Regions from separate parts of the Homo sapiens genome. Here all the other regions are linked to region 1. The links are contacts of gene promoters, found by promoter capture Hi-C in blood cells and fetal thymus (Javierre and others, 2016). All regions are on one chromosome and are shown on one strand. The core of a region is centred on a gene start or on the middle of the fragment in contact, and the rest is flanking DNA. Distances in the headings are between cores, read along the strand shown.

The links. Contacts are between HindIII fragments. The CHiCAGO score rates a contact against its expected background, and 5 or more counts as called.
Region 2: a contact is called between a fragment that was not itself captured here and the fragment with the promoter of HP in region 1, in 1 of 17 cell types (neutrophils). The highest score is 5.5, in neutrophils.
Region 3: a contact is called between a fragment that was not itself captured here and the fragment with the promoter of HP in region 1, in 4 of 17 cell types (M1 macrophages, M0 macrophages, M2 macrophages and 1 more). The highest score is 9.3, in M1 macrophages.

What each region holds. Positions count from the first base shown.
Region 1 is chr16:72,053,084-72,056,201 of GRCh38, forward strand. HP (haptoglobin) reads left to right here and starts at 1,422. Exons shown (of 7, transcript NM_005143.5): 1 at 1,422-1,574; 2 at 3,078-3,118. The coding sequence starts at 1,570. The HindIII fragment of the contact is 5,876 bases long and covers 1-2,810 here.
Region 2 is chr16:71,784,977-71,788,162 of GRCh38, forward strand. All of the region lies in intron 2 of AP1G1 (adaptor related protein complex 1 subunit gamma 1), which reads right to left. Among named protein-coding and RNA genes, the nearest start is that of AP1G1, 22 kb to the right of the region's middle. The HindIII fragment of the contact is 2,663 bases long and covers 125-2,787 here.
Region 3 is chr16:72,464,574-72,467,619 of GRCh38, forward strand. All of the region lies in intron 6 of LINC01572 (long intergenic non-protein coding RNA 1572), which reads right to left. All of the region lies in intron 1 of LOC124903718 (a long non-coding RNA gene), which reads left to right. Among named protein-coding and RNA genes, the nearest start is that of LINC01572, 200 kb to the right of the region's middle. The HindIII fragment of the contact is 1,066 bases long and covers 1,136-2,201 here.

The DNA.
Region 1 (3,118 bases), core at 172-2,671:
TTGTTGTTGTAGTTAGGATATGCTCTGGATAACAACCCTTTATCAGATATAGAATTTGCAAATATTTTCTCCCATTCTGTAGACTGTCTTCACTTTTTTTTTTGAGACAGAGTCTTGTTCTGTCACCCAGGCTGGAGTGCAGTGGTGCGATCTAGGCTCACTGCAACCTCTGCCTCCCAGGTTCAAGCAATTCTCCTGCCTCAGCCTCCGAGTAGCTGGGATTAAAGCATGCGCCACCATGCCTGGCTAATTTTTGTATTTTTAGTAGAGATGGAATTTCACCACATTGGTCAGGCTGGTCTCAAACTCCTGACCTCATGATCCGCCCACCTCAGCCTCCCGAAGTGCTGGGATTACAGGCGTGAGCCACCACGCCTGGCCTGTCTTCATTTTATTAATACTGTCTTTTGATACACAAATGTTCATTCCGATGAAGCCCAATTTATCTAATTTTTCTTTGATTGCTGGTGATTTTGGTGTCATTATCTAAGAATCCATTGCCAAGTTTTACTTGGTTTTGATCTCTAGAAGACTGCCATCATACTGAAGGTAATCTTCTGAAACTTGCGGTTTTCTTTCAAAAATTATGTTTATAAGATGATCCATGTTCTTGCAGAGTTTATTCATTTTATGCTGTATAATATTCCATTATATCCACATACAATGCAGTATTGACCCTTCCTCCTGTTGATGGGCATTTGTCTTGTTTCTAGTTACTTTGCTATTATATCAGTGTCACCATGATTATCCAAAAGTAATTCTTTTGTACACTCTAATTTAAGAACAACTAACCCTTTTTAATGAATAAATCAACCTTGTATTGAGTTGCTACTAAGTTTCAGTTGACTAGTACCTGGGATACACACAGGTGCAGACATTTGACTGAGACATATTGATTTTTCTCATCTGCCTATTTAGGCTAATCACCAGACTATAAAACCATGAGAACCACTGCCATTGAGTATAGTCTGTGTCAGTCTACACTATAGCTTTAACTAGTTGTGTGATTTCTTGCAAAGAGCAATCAGAGAAGACACAATAAACACATTTACTGATTTCAGGCTGGAGAGCTTTTAAGCAATAGGGAGATGGCCACACACAAGGTGGAGAAAATTACTGTGAAAAGGAAGTACTTTCTTTAGAGCCCCACCTAAGCTAGGCTGCAGAAATGTCTACAATGGGTTTGAAAAAACTCAAAATGAGCCTTTCTGCAGTGTGAAAATCCTCCAAGATAAAGAGACAGATTGATGGTTCCTGCCGCCGCCCTGTCCTGCCCAGTTGCTGATTTCAGGAAATACTTTGGCAGGTTTGTGGGTCATAGAGTTGCCAGGTTTCTTGGGATTTGTAATAGAACATCACAAGAAAATCAAGTGTGAAGCAAGAGCTCAACTCTTAACAGGGGTATTGTTTGTGGTTTTGTTACTGGAAAAGATAGTGACCTTACCAGGGCCAAAGTTTGTAGACACAGGAATTACGAAATGGAGAAGGGGGAGAAGTGAGCTAGTGGCAGCATAAAAAGACCAGCAGATGCCCCACAGCACTGCTCTTCCAGAGGCAAGACCAACCAAGATGAGGTGGGTCCACAGCTTTCCCTCCTGCCTTTCCTCTGGTTCTTTATTTCAGTCTTTTTTGCATACATCGGTAGAGATGCAGAAATAGAACAAAGAAACGGGCAAATGGGCTAAATTATAGTGAACCAAAGGGCTTAGTGTGTTAAATCTTCTCCTTTTCTGCATCCATAGAAGACAGTGCTGCTGTCTTTCCCAGGAGATAAGATTTACTCTCAGGAGTGTCTTTTTCCTTCAGGTTACATTTTTGACTTTATAGGGTATGTCATCAGCTCCCGTGGTAGGCTTCCTGGCATCCTGAGTATATTTATTAGCAGATATTTTCCTCTTTAAAAATGTACAATAAGGAAGACTAATAGTAACACATTTGAATGACACAATTAATTGACTAGTACCTGGGATACACACTAATACCTGGGATACATCTAATTAAGGCACTTAGATCTTATAAAAATAAACACTTTTTGAAATGTTGAAATAATAAGACTAGAAACTTTTTTTTTTTTTGAGATGGAGTCTCGCTTTGTCACCAGGCTGCAGTGCAGTGGCATGATCTCGGCTCACTGCAACCTCCACCTCCCAGGTTCAAGTGATTCTCCTGCCTCAGCCTCCCAGGTAGCTGGGACTACAGGCGTGCGCCACTATGCCCACCTAATTTTTGTATTTTTAGTAGAGACGGGCTTTCACCATGTTGGCCAGGATGACCTCGATCTCTTGACCTCGTGATCTGCCTGCCTTGGCCTCCCAAAGTGCTGGGATTACAGGCATGAGCCACCGTGTCTGGCCTAGAAACTATTTTAATAGAAGCAAGTAGTGCCCGAATGGTTGGCATTTGTTAGTGAGATGGTGAACTGGCAGACGGCACCTGTGGGTCAATGCCCATGGCCACCGTCCTGCTTTTGGACACCAGTTCTCTTCCAGGTAACCTTCTGGCATTTTGGGGTTTCAGATACCATTTCCTAAAGGTGAATTATTATAAAATACTAGAAATACCCACGTGTTTAAAATTATATATTTAAGGAACCTTTTATTACGGAAAATATCAAGAAGTAGAGGAATAGCACAGTAAGCCCAAAGTTCCCATCTCTGAGTTATCTACATTTTATTACCACTATCTTTGCGGTGTCTGAGGGAGGTTTCTCTTTCCTGGAGGGCTCCTGTATTATTGCCAATGTACTTTCCTGAATGCAGCCAGAAACTGAGCCCACCCCTCCACCTATGTGCCTTTCTATCCCTCTCTGAAGCTTCTGCAGAATTCCCAGCAGGACAGGGCTTGCTGGAAGCTTGGTATGCTCAGAAGCTGCTAAAGTGTGTATGGGCAGGTGTGGGGGCAATTTCTTGGTCCTAGCACTTCCATATATCGACTTTCTTTTCTGGCTGCTAAGTGGGAGGAGTGTGTGTGTATGCATGTGTGTGTGTGTGTGTGTACATGCATGTGTGTGTGGATGCATGCATGTGCTGTGAAGCAGGGAGACTAGCTTTCCACTCCTCCTTGTCTTCTCTCTGCAGTGCCCTGGGAGCTGTCATTGCCCTCCTGCTCTGGGGACAGC
Region 2 (3,186 bases), core at 206-2,705, 270 kb before region 1:
AAAGTTTTAAAAAGGTGAAATTAGTTTTAATAATATTCTTTAATCAATATATCTAAAATATCATTTCAACGTATGATCAACACAAAAATTATAATTAGGTATTTTACACTTGCTTTTGCACTAAAGCTTCTATATACAGTATGTACTTTACACTTACAGCACATCTCAATTTGTACATTTTCATCAGAAATAGCTAAACTAAAAAGAAAAAAAAAGAAATAGCTGAACTGTATTTAGATTTCATAAAATTTACTATTTATAAAGTAGACTCACATACCCAAGTTGTTTAAAACATATTTAAAAGTCTTCCAATAACTAGGCTGGGTGTGGTGGCTCACACCTGTAATTCCAGCACTTTGGGAGGCCAAGACGGTGGATCATTTGAGGTCAGGAGTTCAAGACTAGTCTGGACAACATGGTGAAACCCTGTCTCTACCAAAAATACAAAAATTAGCCGGGTGTGGTGGCAGGTGCCTGTAGCCCAGCTACTCAGGAGGCTGAGGCAGGAGAATCGCTTGAACCTGGGTAGTGAAGGCTGCAATGAGCCAAGATTGTGCCATTGTACTCCAGCCTGAGTGACAAGAGCGAAACCCTGCCTCAAAAAAAAAAAAAAAAAAAAAAAAGTGGGCTGGGAATGGTGGCTCACGCCTGTAATCCCAGCACTTTGGGAGGCCGAGGCGGGCAGATCACGAGGTCAGATCGAGACCACCCTGGCTAACACAGTGAAATCCCGTCTCTACTAAAAACACAAAAAAATTAGCCAGGCATGGTGGCAGGCGCCTGTAGTCCCAGCTACTAGGGAGGCTGAGGAAGGAGAATGGCGTGAACCCAGGAGGCAGAGTTTGCAGTGAGCTGAGATCACACCATTGCACTCCAGCCTGGGCAACAGGGCGAGACTCCATCTCAAAGAAAAAAAAAAGTGGCTATTATTATACACTAAATGAAAATGGCACTGTGATCATACGTGCAGGTGACAAAATCTAGATATGAACCTTTTAAAGGCATATTATAAAGGTAATTCCAACGGATGGGGTACCAAATTACTGATATGAACAAGATGGTGACTCATTGAAACAGAGGAAACAGAATAAGAACTTAAAATTATGATTCCCAGTCCCATTCAGAAAAATATTTTATGATAAAATTTTAGCACAGTTTTCTCGAGCATTTACTTTCTAAGAATTAAATATTTTATCAAATAATTAAGTCCCAAAATACCCCCAAATGCCACCTAACCTTAAAAGCACATTCTATTTAAACATATTAAAGAAATGAATCTTAGAAAATATAGAGAGATTTTTTACAAAATGAAATATCCCCCAAAGTCTTAAATCTACTCTGATTCCAAATTCAAGAATTTGCCCTTAGTCCAGGGACTGTGGCTTACACCTATAATCACAGCACTTTGGGAGGTTGAGGCCCAAAGATCACTTGAGCCCAGGAGTTCAACACCAACCAGGGAACTGTGGCAGAAATCCAACTCAACAAAAATTTTTTTTTTTTGAGAAAGAGTCTCATTCTGTTGCCAGGCTGGAGTACAGTGGCACGATCTCAGCTCACTGCAACCTGTACCTCCCGGATTCAAACGATTCTCCTGCTTCAGCCTCCTGAGTAGCTGGGACTACAGGCACGCACCACCATGCCCAGCTAATTTTTGTATTTTTAGTAGAGAGGGGGTTCCACCATGTTGGCCAGGATAGCCTCTATCTCTTGACCTCATGATCCACCCACCTCGGCCTCCCAAAGTTCTGGGTGTACAGGCGTGAGCCACCGCACCCAGCCCAAATTTTTTTTTTAATTAGCTGACCGGGCACAATAGTGCACGCCTGTAATCTCAGTACTTTGAGAGGCCAAGACACATGGATTGCTTGAGCTCAAGAGTTCAAAATGAGCCTGAGCAACACAGCAAAGCCCTGTCTCTATAAAAAATACAAAAATTAGCCGGGTGTGGTTCCCAGAAGGTCGAGGCTGCAGTGAGCCCAGTAGAAAGTAAGCCTGAGGTGTCCACTGCACAATCCAGCCTGGGCAACAGAGTGAGATCCCGTCTCAAAAAATTAGCTGGGCCCGGGCACAGTGGCTCACTTCTGTAATCCCAGAACTTTAGGAGGCCGAGACAGACAGATAACGAGGTCAGGAATTCGAGACCAGCCTGGCCAATATGGTAACATTCCGTCTCTACTAAAAATACAAAAATTAGCCGGGTGTGGTGGCACACACCTGTAGTCCCAGCTACTCGGGAGGCTGAGGCAGAAGAATCTTTTGAACCCAGTAGGTGGAGGTTGAAGTGAGCCGAGATCACGCCACTGGACTCCAGCCTGGGCAACACAGCGAGACTCTGTCTCAAAAAAAAAAAAAAAAAAAAAAAAAATTAGCTGGGTGTGGTGCCATGCACCTGCAGTCCCAGTGACTCGAGAGGCTGAGGTAGGAGAACTTGAGCCCAGTAGGTTGAGGTGACAGTGAGCCATCACAGAGCCACAGCATGGGCCATAGAGCAAGACCCTGCCTCTAAAAACAACAAAAAAAGAATATGCTCTTAAAGAACTTCCTTGGGAATATGTAAATGTACTGCTTCCAAAATGTTAATAATGCTTATCGCTGAGGAATTAAGAGTCTTCTCCCTCACTAGACTTTTTTATAGCCCAATTTCTAATATATCAGATTTCTGTAAATCTAACCTAATACTTAAAATCAATCAACCGATCAACAAGAACACGTAGGCATCTATTTGCTTTATACTATGACACACAGTATATGGATAACCACCTGGATCAATTTTTGATGTGGTAAAGCTTATAACTGAAACATCAGAGCCTCAGGGTTTCATTCCACTCCTAACACTCTACGAATGAAATATGAAATATATTTCAAAGAACATATTATATTTTTAGAAACTATTCATGTGAAAGAGAAGAATGCTATTATGACACTAATTCTGTCCCAAACCAAATATATGACTATATTGATGACCCAGCAGTTGCTTCTGCCTGGCTCCTTTTCTTTTGATCCAGTCCCCTTTCCTCTGATACTAACACATCAATTTTTCTTTGGGAAATTAATGGACTCCCACTCTTGATCATGTATTTCTAAAGATGTTGACCCCACTCCAAACCCCAAGATGACCATAAAACCCAAGTCAGTCTGATAAGATTAAATCCCAGTACTTTTTTGTTTTAACTTGGGGGCAGG
Region 3 (3,046 bases), core at 419-2,918, 410 kb after region 1:
CTTTATGTTTGTAAGTATTGATATATTGGGGTCCCCAGAAAGTATAAGAATAAAGTCAAATTAGGCAAATACATAAGCTTTAACTGAGTTTAAATTTCAAAATGAAAGTTACTGTCTTAGTCTGCTTAGATTTGCTATAAAGAAATACCTAAGGCTGGGTAATTTACAAGGAAAAGAGGTTTATTTGGCACACAGTTCTGCAGGCTGTACAAGAGGCTTGGCACCAGCATCTACTTCTGGTAAGGGCTTCAGGCTGCTTCCCCTCATGTCAGAAGTTAAAGAGGAGCTGGCATGCACAGAGATCACATGACGAGAGAGGAAGCAGAGAAAGCAAGCGGAGTTGGGGTTTGCACCAGGCTATTTTTAACAACCAGCTCTCATGAGAACTAATAGAATGAGAACTCACTTACCCCCTCACCCCCAGGGAGAGGATTATTCTATTCATGAAGGATATGCCCCCATGACCCAAACACCTCCCTTTAAGCCTCGTCTCCAACATTAGAAATCAAATTTCAACATGAGATTTGAAGGGGTCAAACAAACCAAACTATACAGTAATGAAGAGAGCAAGTGTTTGCATTACTAGCATAAGGAGTGCTTTGGAACTGAGTGGAATGTGGACACAATGTCTCTTAAGAGCAGGGATGCTGGTTCTCTGCGTAGGTATAAAATTTTACTCTGGCATGAACACACAAAAAGGCGATCTTTCTTCCTTTATACATGTGTAACTCTTAATGATGACCAGAACAAATACTAGCATTGTCACTTTACTAAATTGCAGTGTAGGTATTTACAGTCTACACTTGCATGCAATTTCAGCTTCTGAATATAACATTAGTGATTCTAATTTTATTTTATTTGCAGCTGAAATGACTTGTGTGCAATATACATGATTGGTGACCTTACTAGAATGTCCTAAAACATGCTGTGCCAGAGATAAGTTTAGTTGCCACAAGGCAACTGAAGTTGAATTTTTAGGTCATAATATGCCTGAAAAAAAGGGTTGTATCATCTTTAGTGTTAAAGATATTTAAGGCATTTTATTATTATGAGCCATATACCCATCTGAACAACAAAGATGCCTTGAGTGTTCAAGTCAATCCATAGTTTGGAAGGCCTTGGATAAGGTTCTTTAAGCTTTTCTGTGCCCAGCCCCTGCAGACTGATTAAGCCATATGCAGATTATCTTTCTCCATAAGCATTTATTTCATGAACTTAAGGAAAAAGCCAAAGTGAAAATTAAGGTTTATATCAGGGCCAAGACTGGGATGAGGTAAGAGAAACGCCTATGGTGTAAAATTTAAGGAGGCTCTCAATCCCAGGGTCATGTAAGTGCTAGGTTGACACCAGAAAGTGGGTACCTCCTTAAATTTTGCTATATAAGCACCTTCCTAGCCTCACCCTAGTCCTGGCCTTGGATTTTATTGTCAAAGGTCTTTCAGAGTCAAGGCTGTGCTATTTCAGATGCACATCTTTTTGTTGTTGTTGCTCAAAAGCTAACAAAAATCAAGTACATAATTTTTAAACTTTATATCAAAAAAGTACTGTAAAAAAATGAAATACGTAGAGGAGCAATATTAATAGAGATCTCAGCTAAATCTGAATAACAACTAATAGCATACCTGTTGGTACTATTTGCTGTGTGCAATTATATATATATTTATATATAAACACACAGACACACACATACACGCACACATATAAAATCTCCTTCAGTCCTCAACTCTGAGTTAAAGTATAATTATCATTATTATTCCCATTTATACAGGTAGGGAAATTAAGGCTTATAGATGTCAAATAAAAAATTGCTCACTGTCGCATAGCGAGTAGGAACTCAAGCTGATCTAACTCAAAACCCTAATCTCTAACTGCTATGCTTTGCTGCCTTCTAAATATTATCATTCAATATTGGTGATCTGTTGATTGTATCTCTACTATAGGCAGGCATGTACATGCTAATTGCTTATGTAAATTTAGCATTTTTCTTGTCAGAAAAACTGGTTAATAAGCCTTAGAGTACTCTCATTTTTGCAGCCTTATAGCATGGTGGACTAAGAAAGGGAAAATGAATGTAAGAAAAAGAAAAGAAAGAAGGAAAAAACAAAAGATTGCAAGAGAAAATGCATGATTTAGAGATCATATCCCTTTTGTGAACCAGGATAAAATAATAAGCATGAGGATGAGATTAGTATATGCAAAGAAGCTTCTTTAAAGCAAACCCAAAAGAAAAAGGAGGTCTCATTTATAGTGGAGCAAAAGAAAGAAAAAAAGGTTTATTAGAGGACAAAAAATGTTACTTTGGTTTTAATTTCAGCTTTTTCAAATTAAAAAAAATTAAAATAGACTTCTTTTTTCAGAAACAAAGTATCAGAACTTGTTACTTTTTCTATCTGCTGTAGAAAATACTGATATAAACCAAAACATAGGGTGAACAACGTTACAGTACTTAATTTTAAAAACAAGTTAAAGTAATAAGTGTTATTCAATTCATATAGCAAGAAGAAACACTTATGTAGAAGTAACTAAGATTATTAATGTCTAAGAAATACATGTTTCACGAACAATTTTAAGAATATGTTTTAAGAGACATAGTATTATTGGCCATGATTGTGATGTTCCAGTTTTTTTGGGAAGAGTAGATACTATAAAAGGTTAAATGCCATTTTTTCACCCCGTACCTGCCCGAACCTCTGAGCTCCTCAAACCCTTACCTCCATCACTAAGCCAAGCTCTGATACCAGTAAGAAAGTCCCTATCTTGCAACCTGCTAAAGAGTGCCCTCTTGTGTTGCATGCACATGAAATAACCTTTTTTTTTTCTTTTTTCATGAAGTGTTCTGCTTACACTGAACCTTAGGTTTTCTTTGGCATTGCAGCCAAGAAAGATAAAAGATAAATGATGCTTTAGAACAATTTTCTGGCTTTTAATGCCAGCTAAGTAAAACTATACCCCTATATTAAAGAGTTATAGGTTTTCTTTAAAAAACTTTTATAAAATAAGGTATATCCACTTCAAAAAATAATGTGCCTTTTGTTCAAAGGCTAGT